Linked DNA regions of Homo sapiens: region 1 is linked to region 2. Evidence: promoter capture Hi-C in 16 types of primary human blood cells and fetal thymus (Javierre and others, 2016). All regions are on one chromosome and are shown on one strand. The core of a region is centred on a gene start or on the middle of the fragment in contact, and the rest is flanking DNA. Distances in the headings are between cores, read along the strand shown.

Region 1 (6,722 bases), core at 2,723-5,222, 290 kb before region 2:
TGACTGAATTCATCTCTTCCAGATGTAGCAGGATGTTGAGCCCTTCCCTTGCACCATCAGTAAGGAAACTTTTAATCAGGTGTTTTCCTTACCGTTACTGATCTCCCTGAGCAAGGCTGTTTGAGTACTGGGATATAGATTAACTTGAGTTCAGTCAAGGCTGCCTTGTCTTTCTTAATACGATGTTAATAAGAAACGAGCCACCCTAGCCAGAAAAGCCAAAAAGATATATTCTATCCCCACCAATTCTATCACTTAAAAGTAAAATAGATAAAACAAACATTCCAAGTTCCAGTTCTAGCCCTGTTACTAGCCTTTTGACTCTGGTCAAGTTACTTAACTTAGTTGTACCTTAGATTCCCCATTAGTCAAATAGGGAAACAGACTTAAATGAATTGGTATGCATAAAAGTGCTTTATTAGCCATATACAATTTTTTCAGTTCCCTCTCCTATACTGCATTCAGAGGCCTAGAGAACAACCTGAAAATGTCTTGCTTTCATATCTGGATTTATTGCCAGGAATGAGGCCCAGTGTGAACACCTTTCTTGACAGAAATTGCCAAATCTTTGTCTATCTATTTGTAAATGAAAACCAAGAACCACTAAGAATTCCCCCAAACTCTCGGTGCTGGTTTTAAGATCTTCTGAGCCTTGTAAGTTACAGTAAATACAAGCACATCTCTTCCCCAATTAGAAGCATATTTACACTGCCCATTTGTAGAACAAGACATGACTGTAAATACAGATAGGAAGCCATCATTACATGCAGTCTTGTGTGCAGGGAAAAACAAGTGCATATGGAGATGAGATTGTGACTACTCTTGATTCTCACAGAGCAGTAAAATGCTATCAAATTCAGTCAAACTCAGCTAATGAATTTTCTCCTTGAGGTAGTCTCCTCTACTGGGAAGAAAGGAAGAACTAAAAACACATCAAATTTAAATCCTCTGGTAAAAGAGAAGCAACTCACCATTAGAGAGATGTATTGCTGGCTCTTCCAAGAAATGGAGTGGAAATCTTTCTGTGCCACTTTGCCCAGGACCATTGTGCCAGTGTGCAAGAATGTGTGTTTTTCATAAACAGAAAAATATCACTAGCTGCAAAGAGAAGAAACTGTTCCAGGGTGTACAAATCCCACGCCAACCTCCAAAATAATGGCAAATACTGTTCTGATCTTAGCAACCCAGAATAACCTTTGTGCCATTTATTTATTCAACACATATTTCTTGGGCAGCTATTATGGGTCAGGCACTGTGCTAGGCGATATGATCATGATCTCTGCCCTGGAAAAGCTTCATCTTACATATCTCTGGAATAAAATATTTTGGTGGAATAGAACCAAAGTTAACATAATGTGGATTTCAGCTTCTATATTCACTCATATAGCCACTGGTGCCAGTCACATCCAGTTTGGAGAGCTGGAACAATTAACAGTAAGTCTCATCTTTGCCAAGTCCACATATTTGGCCTGATAACTCAGAATTCAGTGTATGACAATAATGTAGGCCAATACTATCATCAGCTATAAGACTAATTTGTTTTGGTTTCTTTATTAAATTCCTATAATCAGCTAGATATTTTTTCCACAATCAGAACTTTTATTGTTGAAAATAAATAAATAACAAAGAATAAATATCCCTTTCTCTTCTTCCCTCTGCCTGTATCCATATAGGGGAAAGAAAAAACTGCTCTGAGATTCAGTGAGATTATGACCTTCACAAAATCATGAACTTTCTGCTGCCTTTTTAACCAGAAATCTAGGCAGGAGGGTCTCACCATTTTGCATATCCTACCTGTTCCTTACAGGCTCTAGGCTTTTGAGCCTTCCTATCATTTGACCAGCCAAGTTGCTTCTCAGCACCTTTTTTTTCCCCTTTGAGTCAGGGTCTGGGTCCAGTGGCCCAATTATAGCTCACTGCAGCCTCAGTATCCCAGGCTCAAGCAATCCTCCCACCTCAGCCTCCCAAGTATCTGGGACTACAGGCATGTGCCACCATGCCCAGCTTTTTTTTTTTTTTTTCTTAGAGACGTATTATCACTACATTGCCCAGGGTGGCCTCTAACTCCTGGGCTCAAGAGATCCTCCCACCTCGGCCTCCCAAAGTGCTGGGATTACAGGCATGAGCCACCATGCCTAGCCTTCAGGCACCTTCCATTCAGACCACATTTTCTGTGGCAAACTGACAACGCCAATGTTTGCAGTTTGCAGTTTAACTACAGCTGTATTTTTTGCCAAACATTTACACCTAACTACTCTTTTCCACTAGAGTATATAACAATTTACAGAAGCATTTAATGTTTTCTGAATCCCCAAGCTCATCAGCAGAGAAGCTCCAAAACATGAAGGTGTACATCCCTATTTTAGGCCTTCATAGAAAGAAACCAACCTGGCCGGGCACGGTGGTTCAAGCCTGTAATCCCAGCACTTTGGGAGGCCGAGGAAGGCGGATCACGAGGTCAGGAGTTCAAGACCAGCCTGACCAACATAGTGAAACCCCATCTCTACTAAAAATACAAAGTTAGCTAGGCGTAGTGGCGCATGCCTGTAATCCCAGCTACTGGGGAGGCTGAGGCAGGAGAATCATTTGAACCCAGGAGGCAGAGGTTGCAGTGAGCCGAGATTGCACCACTGCACTTCAGCCTGGCGACAGAGCAAGACTCTGTCTCAAAAAAAAAAAAAAAAAAAAAAAAAGGCCGGGCACGGTGGCTCAAGCCTGTAATCCCAGCACTTTGGGAGGCCGAGGCGGGCCGATCACAAGGTCAGGAATTCCAGACCAGCCTGGCCAATATGGTGAAACGCTGTCTCTACTAAAAATATTAAAAAAAATTAGCTCGGCATGGTGGTGCATGCCTGTGATCCCAGCTACTCAGGAGGCTGAGGCAGGAGAATTGCTTGAATCTGGGAGGCGGAGATTACCGTGAGCCGAGATCGCGCCACTGCACTCCAGCCTGGGCGACGTAGACACCGTCTCAAAAACAAAACAAACAAAAAAGAAGGAGATAATAGAATGGAGGGAAGACAATATTCAAAGAAATAGTGGCTGAACATTTTCCAGAATTGAAGGTAAATATCCTAAATTCTGGAAGACCAAAACTTGCCATGCTGAAAAGTATAAAATGCACACATAAAATTTAGTACCCAGAGAGAAAGGGGATCTTAAAATTAGGCAGCAAGAAAAGACATTAGGCCGGGCACAGTGGCTCACGCCTGTAATCCCAGCACTCTGGGAGGCCAACATGAGCAGATTGCCTGAGGTCAGGAGTTCGAGACCAGCCTGACCAACATGGCAAAACCCTGCCTCTACTAAAATTACAAAAATTAGCTGGGTGTGGTGGCACACGCCTGTAATCCCAGCTACTCGAGAGGCTAAGGCAGGAGAATCACTTGAACCTGGGAGGCAGAGGTTGCAGTGAGCTGAGATTGCGCCACTGCACTCCAGCCTAGGCAACAGAGCAAGACTCCATCTCAAAAAAAAAAAAAAAAAAGAAAAGAAAAGACACTAATCTTCAAAGAAAAGATAATTTGGCTGACAGCTGACCTTTCAATAGTAACAATAGAAGCCAAATGATACTGCAGCGTATCTTCAAAATGTTAAGAGAAAATTACCATCTTCCAGAAGGAAGATCCAAAATGCGAGAAGTAATGGTGAACAAAGAAAATTGTTTGCATGTTTGCTGTAAATCTAAACACTATCCAAAATAATGGCAACAATATCTAAATTCTACTATTGTTCAATAATTTAACATATACTATTGTGAGAGGGTAAATTAAAGTATTAGAAGGCTTTGTATTGTTTAAGAGGAGGCTAAATAAGTCTATAATTTGTTGAGTTAAATATACATGTTAAAATTTCTACATAATCAGTACAAGAAATTAAACAGTATATATAACTTCCAGTTTATTAGGGGGATAAAATAAAATAGGAAGATCTTAATTTTAAAAATGGATAAAAAATGTTTAAGGAGGACAAATAGTAAAACATTAGATAGCAGAAATAAATTCAAATATGAGTAATTACAATCAGTGTAAATATATTAATTCCTAATTAAAAGTCAAAGAGCTGGGCATGGTGGTTCACACCCATAATCCCAGCACTTTGGGAGGCCAAGGCAGGAGGATTGCTTAAGGCCAGGAGTTTGAAACCAGCCTGGGCAACATAGCAAGACCCCATCTCAAAAAAAAAAATTGGGGGTGGGGGGTGGTACTGAGACAGGAGAATCACCTGAACCTGGTAATTCAAGCCTGCAGTAAGCACCACCGCACTCCAGCCTGGGTGGCAGAGCAAGACCCTGTCTCAAAAAAAAAAAAAATATTAATAGCCAGGCACAGTGGTTTGCACCTGTAATCCCAGCTAGTCAGGAGGCTGAGGCAGGAGGATTTTTTGAGCCCGGAAGTTCAAGGTTACAGTGAACTATGACTGCACCACTGCACTCCAGCCTGCACAACAGGGGAAGACCCTGAAGTTCATAGCTGCATTTTTTATATTGGTGAAAAAAATGGAAACTCAAGCTCAGGTAGATAGCAATGATAGAATGATGAATGATTAATACAGTATGGTATCTTCATACCATGTAAACAATGAAAATGAACAAACTACAGCTACAAACAACAATGTGATGAATCACAAAAATAAATGAAAGAAGCCAGACACAAACAAATACTGTATGAATCCGTTAAAAACAGTTCAAAAGCAGGGAAAACTAAACTATCATTTTAGAAGTCAGAATTGTGGTTAAGGAGGGAAGTCTTTTTGAGGAAGGAAGAAATCAATAATAAGGAGGGGTCATGAGAAGATATTCCATTTCTTAACCTAGGGGGAAGTTGCACATATATGTTCACCTAGGGACAATTCAGTGAGCTGTACTCATGATCTGTATACTTCTCCATATGTATTTTATATTTCAAAAAGTTTAAAAATAAAAACTAGCTCCTTAAGTTTTTAAGTTTTTTCTTTAATTGAAATTAAATATAACAGTGTTTCCCAAAAAAAGCAAAACTAAATCATCATGTTTAGGGATACAAATTAGGGGAAAAACTTAAAAGAAAAAAAAAAAAAGCCAGGAAGTGACTATCATAGACATCATGATACTGGTTCTGGTTCTTCTGGGAACGAGGGGCAAGAGTTCGTGGAGACACAAAAATAAGAATGCTCTTATTCTTGATATGAGCTGTGGTGGTTACATGGGTGTTTGCTTTGTATTAAATTGACCAGGGGCCAGGCGCGGTGGGTCATGCCTATAATCCCAGCACTTTGGGAGGCTGAGGAGGGTGGACCACCTGAAGCCAGGAGTTCAAGACCAGCCTGGCTAACATGGTGAAACCCTGTTTCTACTAAAAATACAAAAAGTAGCCGGGTGTGGTGGCGCATGCCTGTAGTCCCAGCTACTCGGGAGGCTGAGGCAGAAGAATCACTCGAACCCAGGAAGTGGAGGTTACAGTGAGCTGAGATCGTGCCACTTCATCCCAGCCTGGGCAACAGAGCCAGACTCCATCTCAAATAAAAAAGAACAACAACAAAAGAAGAAATTGACCAGGCCAGCAAGAATCACTTGAGGCCAGGAATTGGAGACCAGCCTGAGCACCATAGTGAGACCCTGTCTCTATAAAAAATAAAATTAAAAATTAGCCAGGCATGGTAACACACTTGTAGTCCCAGCTACTCAGGAGGCTGAGGTGGGAGGATTGCTTGAGGCCAGGTCAAAGCTGCAGTGATCCATGATTGTGCCACTGCACTCCACCCTGGATGACAGAGAGAGACCCTGTCTCAAAAAATAAATAATAAATAAGAATAAATTATTGACCTGTGTTTACCTTGTTCGGGCATTATTCTTTTTTTTCTTTCTTTCTTTTTTTTTTTTTTTTGAGACAGAGTCTTGCTCTGTCGCCAGGCCGAAGTGCAGTGGTGCGATCTCGGCTCACTGCAACCTCCACCTCTCAGGTTCAAGCAATTCCCCTGCCTCAGCCTCCCAAGTAGCTGGGACTACAGGCGCACGCCACCACGCCCGGCTGATTTTTTGTATTTTAGTAGAGACAGGGTTTCACCATGTTGGTCAGACTGGTCTCGAACTCCTGACCTCATGATCCGCCTGCCTCGGCCTCCCAAAGTGCTGAAATTATAGGCGTCAGCCACCGCACCCGGCCTCTTTTTTTTCTTTTTTTAACAGAAATGGGATCTCTCTCTGTTGCCCAGGCTGGTCTCAAACTCCTGGGCTCAAGCAATCCTTTTGCCTCACCTTCCCAAAGTGCTGGGATTACCAGGTATGAGCCACCATACCCAGCCAGGACATTTTCTATATGAATATTGCACAATGAAAAGGGGGGTATTTTGGTATTTTTATTAGAGAAAGTGTCTCACTCCATCTCCCAGGCTGGAGTACAGTGGCTCCATTATAGCTCATGGTAGCCCAGAACTCCTGGGCTCAAGTGATCCTCCCACCTCAACCTCCTATGTAGCTGGAACTATAGGCACATGCTGTCACACCTAGCTTTTTTTATGTATTTTTTATTTTTTTGGTAGAGACAAAGTCTTGCTATGTTGCCCAGGCTGGTCTTGAACTCCTGGCCTCAAGCGATCCTCCCACTTCAGCCTCCCAAAGTGCTAGGATTACAAGCATGAGCCACTGCACCAGCCTAAAAAAGATATTTTAAAGTAAGCTTTTAAAAAAAGATAATAGGCCGGGCGCTGTGGCTCATGCCTCTATTCCCAGCACTTTGGGAGGC
Region 2 (6,623 bases), core at 484-2,983:
CATCTGAACAGTGTCCAAATAAATCTAATTGCTTTTGGGAAATATATCAGACTGGGCTGAGAAAAATCTCCCACTACCATAATCTGTACTTTATTTTCTCCTTACCAACATACTGAAACAGATAATTTTTTTTTTTTTAAATGAGGCCCAGAGTTTATTGGCCGAGGGGGATCTTGACTCCACATTCCCGGTCCTGAGCACTATGAACACAGGCTTGATTTCTCCCTGGGGTCCCTAGTTTTTCTCAGGTACTACTTCTCTTTGCTAGTTGAGACATGGTATGATCAGAATTCAAAGTACAACTGCAATAACACTAATATTAATACTAATAAAGTGACCGACTCGTAATGCAGCGGTTTTCAAAGACTTTTCCCAGTTATCACATCATTTGATTCTCACAAGATCCTAGTAAGATAGGAAGCGATTATTATTTCTTTGTCTTTTCTTTTCTTTTTGAGATAGAGTCTCACTCTGTTTCCCAGGCTGAAGTGCAGTGAGGCGATCTTGGCTAACTGCAGCCTCCACCTCCCGGGCTCAAGCAATCCTCCCACCTCAGCCTCCCGAGTTGCTGGGACTATAGGTGCACACCACCACACTCAGCTAACTTTTAATATTTTTTGTAGAGACGGCGTCTTGCCATGTTGCCCAGGCTGGTCTTGAACTCCTAGACTCAGGCGATCCGCCCTCCTTGGCCTCCCAAAGTGCGGAGATTACAGGCATGAGCCACCTCGCCTGGCTGAGATTATTTCTTGTCACAGAAAAGAAGGTGAGACTCAAAAGGGTTACACAGTCAAGGGCAGAGTTGAGACTTAAAGCCTGACCTTTGAGCCGGGATAATTGAAAACAAACCAACAAACAAACCCAACTGTTTGGAAATAGCAAAGGCAATACAGTGTAAAAATAAAAGTATATTTACCCAGACAAAATGCTTAGGTTTGCAGAATCACCAAGAAATTTGCCCACTGGAGTTCTAGGGACATCTGGACAGACGGTAAAGGAAGTGTCTCTCTCCAGGAGCAGGTTTAACATTTTCCTTTGATTAGACCTAAAACTGGGTCCTGAGCCAGAGCTTCCTTCCTCTCTTGTGGATGAGAAGAGTTCCGTAGACATGGTCTTCGAATTCTCACCAGGAGAAAAACAAAACCTAGCTAGGAGGAAAACGTCATCTAAATCGGTACATCACAGTTCCCTCAGCTTTCCTAAACTCCTCCACCCTTTCCAGCCAGGCGAATCAACACTGGAAGAGGGGCAACCCCGAAGGGTGATTCACAGCCTGGCTTAAGGTTAGAACCTGAATTCACCGACGAGAGGCAACCTTAGGACCTTAAAGATGGAATGAAGAGAGGATTTTGACTTGTTCCACGCCACACAGCTCGAGACTCCTGACTAGAAAGAACCCGGGTCTCGTAACTCGCGATAGTCCCCATTCGGCCCTCCCAACCTCTGTCTGTGGGGGCCCGACTGGACCCTAAGGGGGACAATGGGGTCTCCGTGATTCCGTGGCGGAGACGGCTGCGGACTTACCTCAAGCCTGGAGTCTGAGGCTTGCCTACAAGAGGAGAGAAAGTAGATAGGGATCGGACACAGGCGAAGACTTGAGCAGAATGAAAGGAAATCTAGGGGAAAGGAGGTAGTTAACTAGATTGCAGCTCTGCCTTCCGACTGGGTAGGCCAACGTCGGACTCAGAGTCTTCCCTGAGCAGAAGGCCAAAGTTACGGCCTCTGAGCAAGAATATCAACAGCCGCAGGCGTTGACCATTCAAACCTTCCGCCAGCCCAGTAACCTATCCCCGCTCGCCTCTAAGCTGCGTCAGCCAATCTCCGCGCGCGCGCCCAGGGCCTCATGGCCTATCGTTGGGCTCGCAGATCACCTGGGGGCGTGTGCTTGCTCTGGAAATGGTAAGACTTGCCCCGCCCCATAGCCAGAGCAGGATAGTGTTTGGCCCACCAGCGTTAGGCAGGCTGCGGGGTAAGCTCCGCCTCACGGGGAGCCTGGCGCATCATTGGCTCTCCCTCTCACCAATCTCCACACCCTTTCTGTTTTCCTCGTTCCCTCAGCCCCACGAACCCCGGGAGATTTAAACCGCGCCTTACTAGTGATGTCCATTCACTAGGGTAATACTAGGAGAGATTATTTTGGGTGGAGGGTGTTGTAAGCGTTTCATTTTCTTCGCTTCTTTCTCGTGCCGTTTTCGCGGACGTTTTCTTCTAAGTTTTGCTGGCCTTCCACGGGAGATGGAGCGTTTGCTGCCGGCGTGGCAAGTGTTGGGGCGAGACGGGTGTGTGTGTTTATGCTGAGAGGCATTAGCCCCTTCCAAGAGCTTTGTTTGGTGTTTCTTTTAGTGTGCAGCATCTCAGAGACTCTAGCTCACGTGGGTAAAAAGAAATTCCGTTGCAGGGAAAGTGGAGGAATTAAATCATCTTGGTATAATCCTTATCGCAATCCAGAGGACCTCAAAGATTGGTTATTAATGAAAATTTGAACATTGACGAGGTGATATTTATAAATTATTGGCCGGACGCGTTGGCCCACACCTGTAATCCCAGCACTTTGGGAGGCCGAGGCGGGCAGATTACATGAGGTCAGGGGTTCAAAACCAGCCTGGCCAACATGATGAAACCCCGTCTCTACTAAAAATACAAAATTTAGCCGGTTGTGGTGGCACACACCTGTAATCCCAGCTACTTGGGAGGCTGAGGCATGAGAACTGCTTGAACTCGGGAGACAGAGGTTGCGCCACTGCACTCCAGCCTGGGCATTAGAGTGAAACAAACAAAAAGACATTCCTAATGTTAGGGATTTGCTTTTAAATAATCCTGTGCTGGGGGAAGGTATTGATGATACAAGATTGACCCTGACTGTTGAGTGATGGGGGCAGGAGGGTCCATCATATCTGTGCTTCTCAAGGTTTAATTTGCACACTAACCACCTGAGGACCTGCTAAATGCAGATTCTGATTCGGGATGTCTGGGTTGCGGTTGCGGCCCAAGATTCTGCCCTTCTAACAAGCCCCCAGCTGATGGTGAGGTAGCTGGTCCTACGACCATACTTTGCGTGGTAAGGTATTACCCCATACTTCTTACTTCAATGTATATTTGAAAATTTCCATAATAAAAATGTTCAAAATAACCTTGGAAGCTCTTTAAGATGTAGGCTCCAAAAACGATAATTCGATAGGTCTAAAGTGGGGTCATTATCAAGGCCCCCAGGTGCTACCCATGCAGACGGCTTGCAGATCATGCTTTGAGAAACAAAAGTCAAAATGCAACTTGTGTCTGTTGTCAGGATCTTGGTGGTGGTAGTGGCTGAGAGGCACAGTGTAGCCAGCTGGTTTTTATCCTAATACCCTTTTCATCTGCAGAACCTGCTTCCCCAGAAAGGAGATGTGTGAAGATTCTTTGTCCTCTAGGATACAGACAGTGAGTGTAGGAGTTAGCACAGAACCTTGCTATGCCAGGTGAGTTTGAAAATCAGGCTGGGGATTAAGGGAGTGTGGGATGAGTTGTTATCTGCTTTGACGACTACAGTATAATCACACTTTGTGGGAAATTGTATACTTCCCTGCAGGTGGGAAGTAGAGACAAAGTTATTCTCTATTGGTGGCAAAAGCAGATAGATTATGGCAAGTGCACACCTGGCTACCAGTGCTTTCTGCACCAGGTCCTCAAGTAAGTGCAGTTGTGGGTGGTCACAACAAAGGTGTCAGCCAAGTGGCTTTAGTTCAATGTCAGGTGATGGAAATATACTAAAATCTGAGCACTCTGACAAAGTTGCAGCATTCCTAAAACAAATTCTCCAAAAATCTAGCCCCAAAAATAAGTTTCTGAGATTTCTCAAATGGAACTTATACACCTAGCTCTTAAGAGTATTTTTTTTTTTTTTAAGATGGAGTCTCGCTCTCTCCCGGGCTAGAGTACAGTGGCGCAATCTTGGCCCACTGCAACCTCTGCCTCCTGGGTTCAAGTTATTCTCCTGCCTCAGCCTCCCGAGTAGCTGGGACTACAGGTGCCCGCCACCACGCCTGGCTGATTTTTGTATTTTTAATAGAGGTGGGGTTTCACCATATTGTCCAGGCTGTTCTGGAACTCCTGACCTCAAATGATCCACCCACCTCGGCCTCCCAAAGTGCTGGGATTACAGGCATGAGCCACTGCGCCCGGCCGCCCTTAAGACTTTTTACAGATGCAGTGGTGCGCCTGTAGTCCCAGCTACTTGGGAGGATCACTTGAGCCCAGGAGTTTGAGGCCAGCCTGGGCAACATAGTGAGACTGTCTCCTAAAAACAACAACAAAAAAACTTTTTTTTTTTGAGACAGTTTCTTTCTTGTTGCCTAGGCTGGAGTGCAATGGCGCAATCTCAGCTCACTGCAACCTCTGTTCAAGTGATTCTCTTGCCTCAGCCTCCTGAGTAGCTGGGATTACAGGCATGCGCCACCACACCTGGCTAATTTTTGTATTTTTAGTTGAGACAGGGTTTCGCTGTGTTGGCCAGGCTGGTCTCAAACTCCTGACCTGAGGTAATCCACCCACCTCGGCCTCCCAAAGTGCTGGGATTACAGGTGTGAGCCACCATGCCCAGCCAACAAAACTCTTAAAAGCTCTACGTTTGTTAATGAGGTTGTTTTCCTAGCAAACATTTTCACTATCTCCTCATGATTCCAGCTGGCTTAGCTAATTGCAACATACTTAGCTAATTACATGTAAGTTTACATGCATACATACAAACTGTGAAATGGTAGAATTATTTTAAAGGGAAGTCAAATATTGTCTTTTATATCTTGATTTATGAGGGTGTTGGAATATATCTAAGTTATCCTTCCCAGAAGAAAGAATATTAGGGAGGTGGGAAGTTTGGTGTTTAATCTGATTTGAAGATTTACTTTTTCTGTTGGATTGAGGGCATTGATCCTATGTCATCCTTGGGGAATCCCTATCTAGGCTCCTGATTCACTGTGATAAGCAGTGAGCTGTGTTCCTTCACCTTGACCTCAGTCTGACTCATACATGTTGTTGCCAGGGCACAGTGACAGCCCGGGCTTCACCCTGAAACACCAAACAAGAACAGGAGGTACAGCCATCACTCCTGGGATGCCCAGATCAGGCAGTGGAGAAGAGCCCTGCATTCCTGGGATCCTCCCAGCCAGCCTCTGCAGGGCAGAGGGGCTGAGGGGTGTGTTTTCTATTCCTGGTTCTTTTTATGACTGGTAGGCTTAGCCCTACTTCTCCCCACTTTGCAGAGGTTTAGCTTTCACTGGGTGAAAAGGGAAGGTCTGAATCGAGTGCATGTTCCTCCAACTCGGCTGTTCCTTCCTAGGCAGGGAATGAAGAGTCTTAGAACCAATGGATTCCACTCCTTTGGATGACCTCCTGGATGACTGGCTCCAGGCCCTGGAGCCCTCAGAATATGGATGGAGAGTATCCTTTGCTGAAACCCACTGGAGCAGGGTCACAGATGGGGTTTGGCCCATGAGGGCATAATTAAGATGCAGTTCAAAGCAGTGGCTCAAGAACAAAAGACTAAAAAGGGGGCAGCAGGGAAAGAGCAGGACATGAGTAAAAAATCCTTGGGAACTAAAAGTGGAATAAGGAGATTTAATTATGGGTAGGAGTGTTGGGCTGCACTGGGAGGCCATTTTATAGATGACGAAAGGGGATGTAACCTTCCTTTGAAATGAGGCCTGAAACTTGACTTGCAGGGTTTTTTTTTTTGTTTTGTTTTTTTTGTTTTGTTTTGGGTCTCAGTTTCTTTCAATGTTTTGCAAATGAGCCAATGCCTACTTTTAACTCAACCATTTAATTCATAATAATTAAATTATTAATTTAATTAATAATAAAAAGGTGAACAGCTTAGTGGTGAAAAGCAAGGGCTTTTAGACTGCTTTTTGAGAGTACCTTTGCCTACCATGTGGGCAGTCACTTAACTTCTTGGGCTGTTTCATTTGTCAAAGAGAAGGTTTTGTTTCATTTGATGATTGTAAGAAAAAATGAGAATATATATCAAAGTATGTAGGTCAAGTGTGGTGGTTCACACCTGGAATCCCAGCACTTCGTTTTTTGTTCATTTGTTTTTTTTTTTTTTTGAGACAGAGTCTCATTCTGTTGCCCAGGCTGGAGTGCAGTGGCACAATCTCGGCTCACTGCAATCTCTGCCTCCCCGGTTCAAGCGATTCTCCTGCCTCAGCCTCCCGAGTAGCTGGGATTACAGATGGGCGCCACAATGCCCAGCTAATTTTTGTATTTTTTAGTAGAGACGGGGTTTCACTTTGTTGCCAGGCTGGTCTCGAACTCCTGACCTCAGGTGATCCGTCTGCCTCAGCCTCCCAAAGTGCTAGGATTACAGGTGTGAGACACCACGCCAATCCCAGCACTTTGTGAGGCCAAGATGGGAAGATTGTTTGAGGCCAGGAGTTTGAGACTACCCTGGGCAACATAGCAAGACGCCTCTCTCTACAAAAATAGAAATAAATATGCTGGGCATGGTGGCACACCCCTGTAGTTCTAGCTATTCAGGAGGCTGAGATGGAAAGGATTGCTTGAGCCCAGAAGTTCAAGGCTGCAGTGAGCTGTGATCGCCTCAGTGCACTCCAGCCTGAGCAACAGCAAGACCCTGTTTTTACAAAAAA

Evidence for each region. Contacts are between HindIII fragments. The CHiCAGO score rates a contact against its expected background, and 5 or more counts as called.
Region 1: a fragment that was not itself captured here is called in contact with the fragment with the promoter of CDC25C in region 2 in 1 of 17 cell types (neutrophils); the score reaches 5.0 in neutrophils.

The regions. Positions count from the first base shown.
Region 1 is chr5:138,037,595-138,044,316 of GRCh38, forward strand. FAM13B-AS1 (FAM13B antisense RNA 1) reads left to right here. Exons shown (of 2, transcript NR_037900.2): 2 at 1-1,339. It also overlaps a transcript of FAM13B not described here. Among named protein-coding and RNA genes, the nearest start is that of FAM13B, 7.9 kb to the left of the region's middle. The HindIII fragment of the contact is 5,363 bases long and covers 1,292-6,654 here.
Region 2 is chr5:138,330,071-138,336,693 of GRCh38, forward strand. It overlaps CDC25C (cell division cycle 25C), which reads right to left and starts at 1,734. Exons shown (of 14, transcript NM_001790.5): 1 at 1,525-1,734; 2 at 917-1,148. The coding sequence starts at 1,110. LOC100128966 (a long non-coding RNA gene) reads left to right here and starts at 2,035. Exons shown (of 4, transcript NR_146628.1): 1 at 2,035-2,115; 2 at 3,363-3,458; 3 at 5,315-5,415. RefSeq lists enhancers at 892-1,845, 1,557-1,686, 1,697-1,746 and a silencer at 1,797-2,056. The HindIII fragment of the contact is 22,786 bases long and covers 1-6,623 here.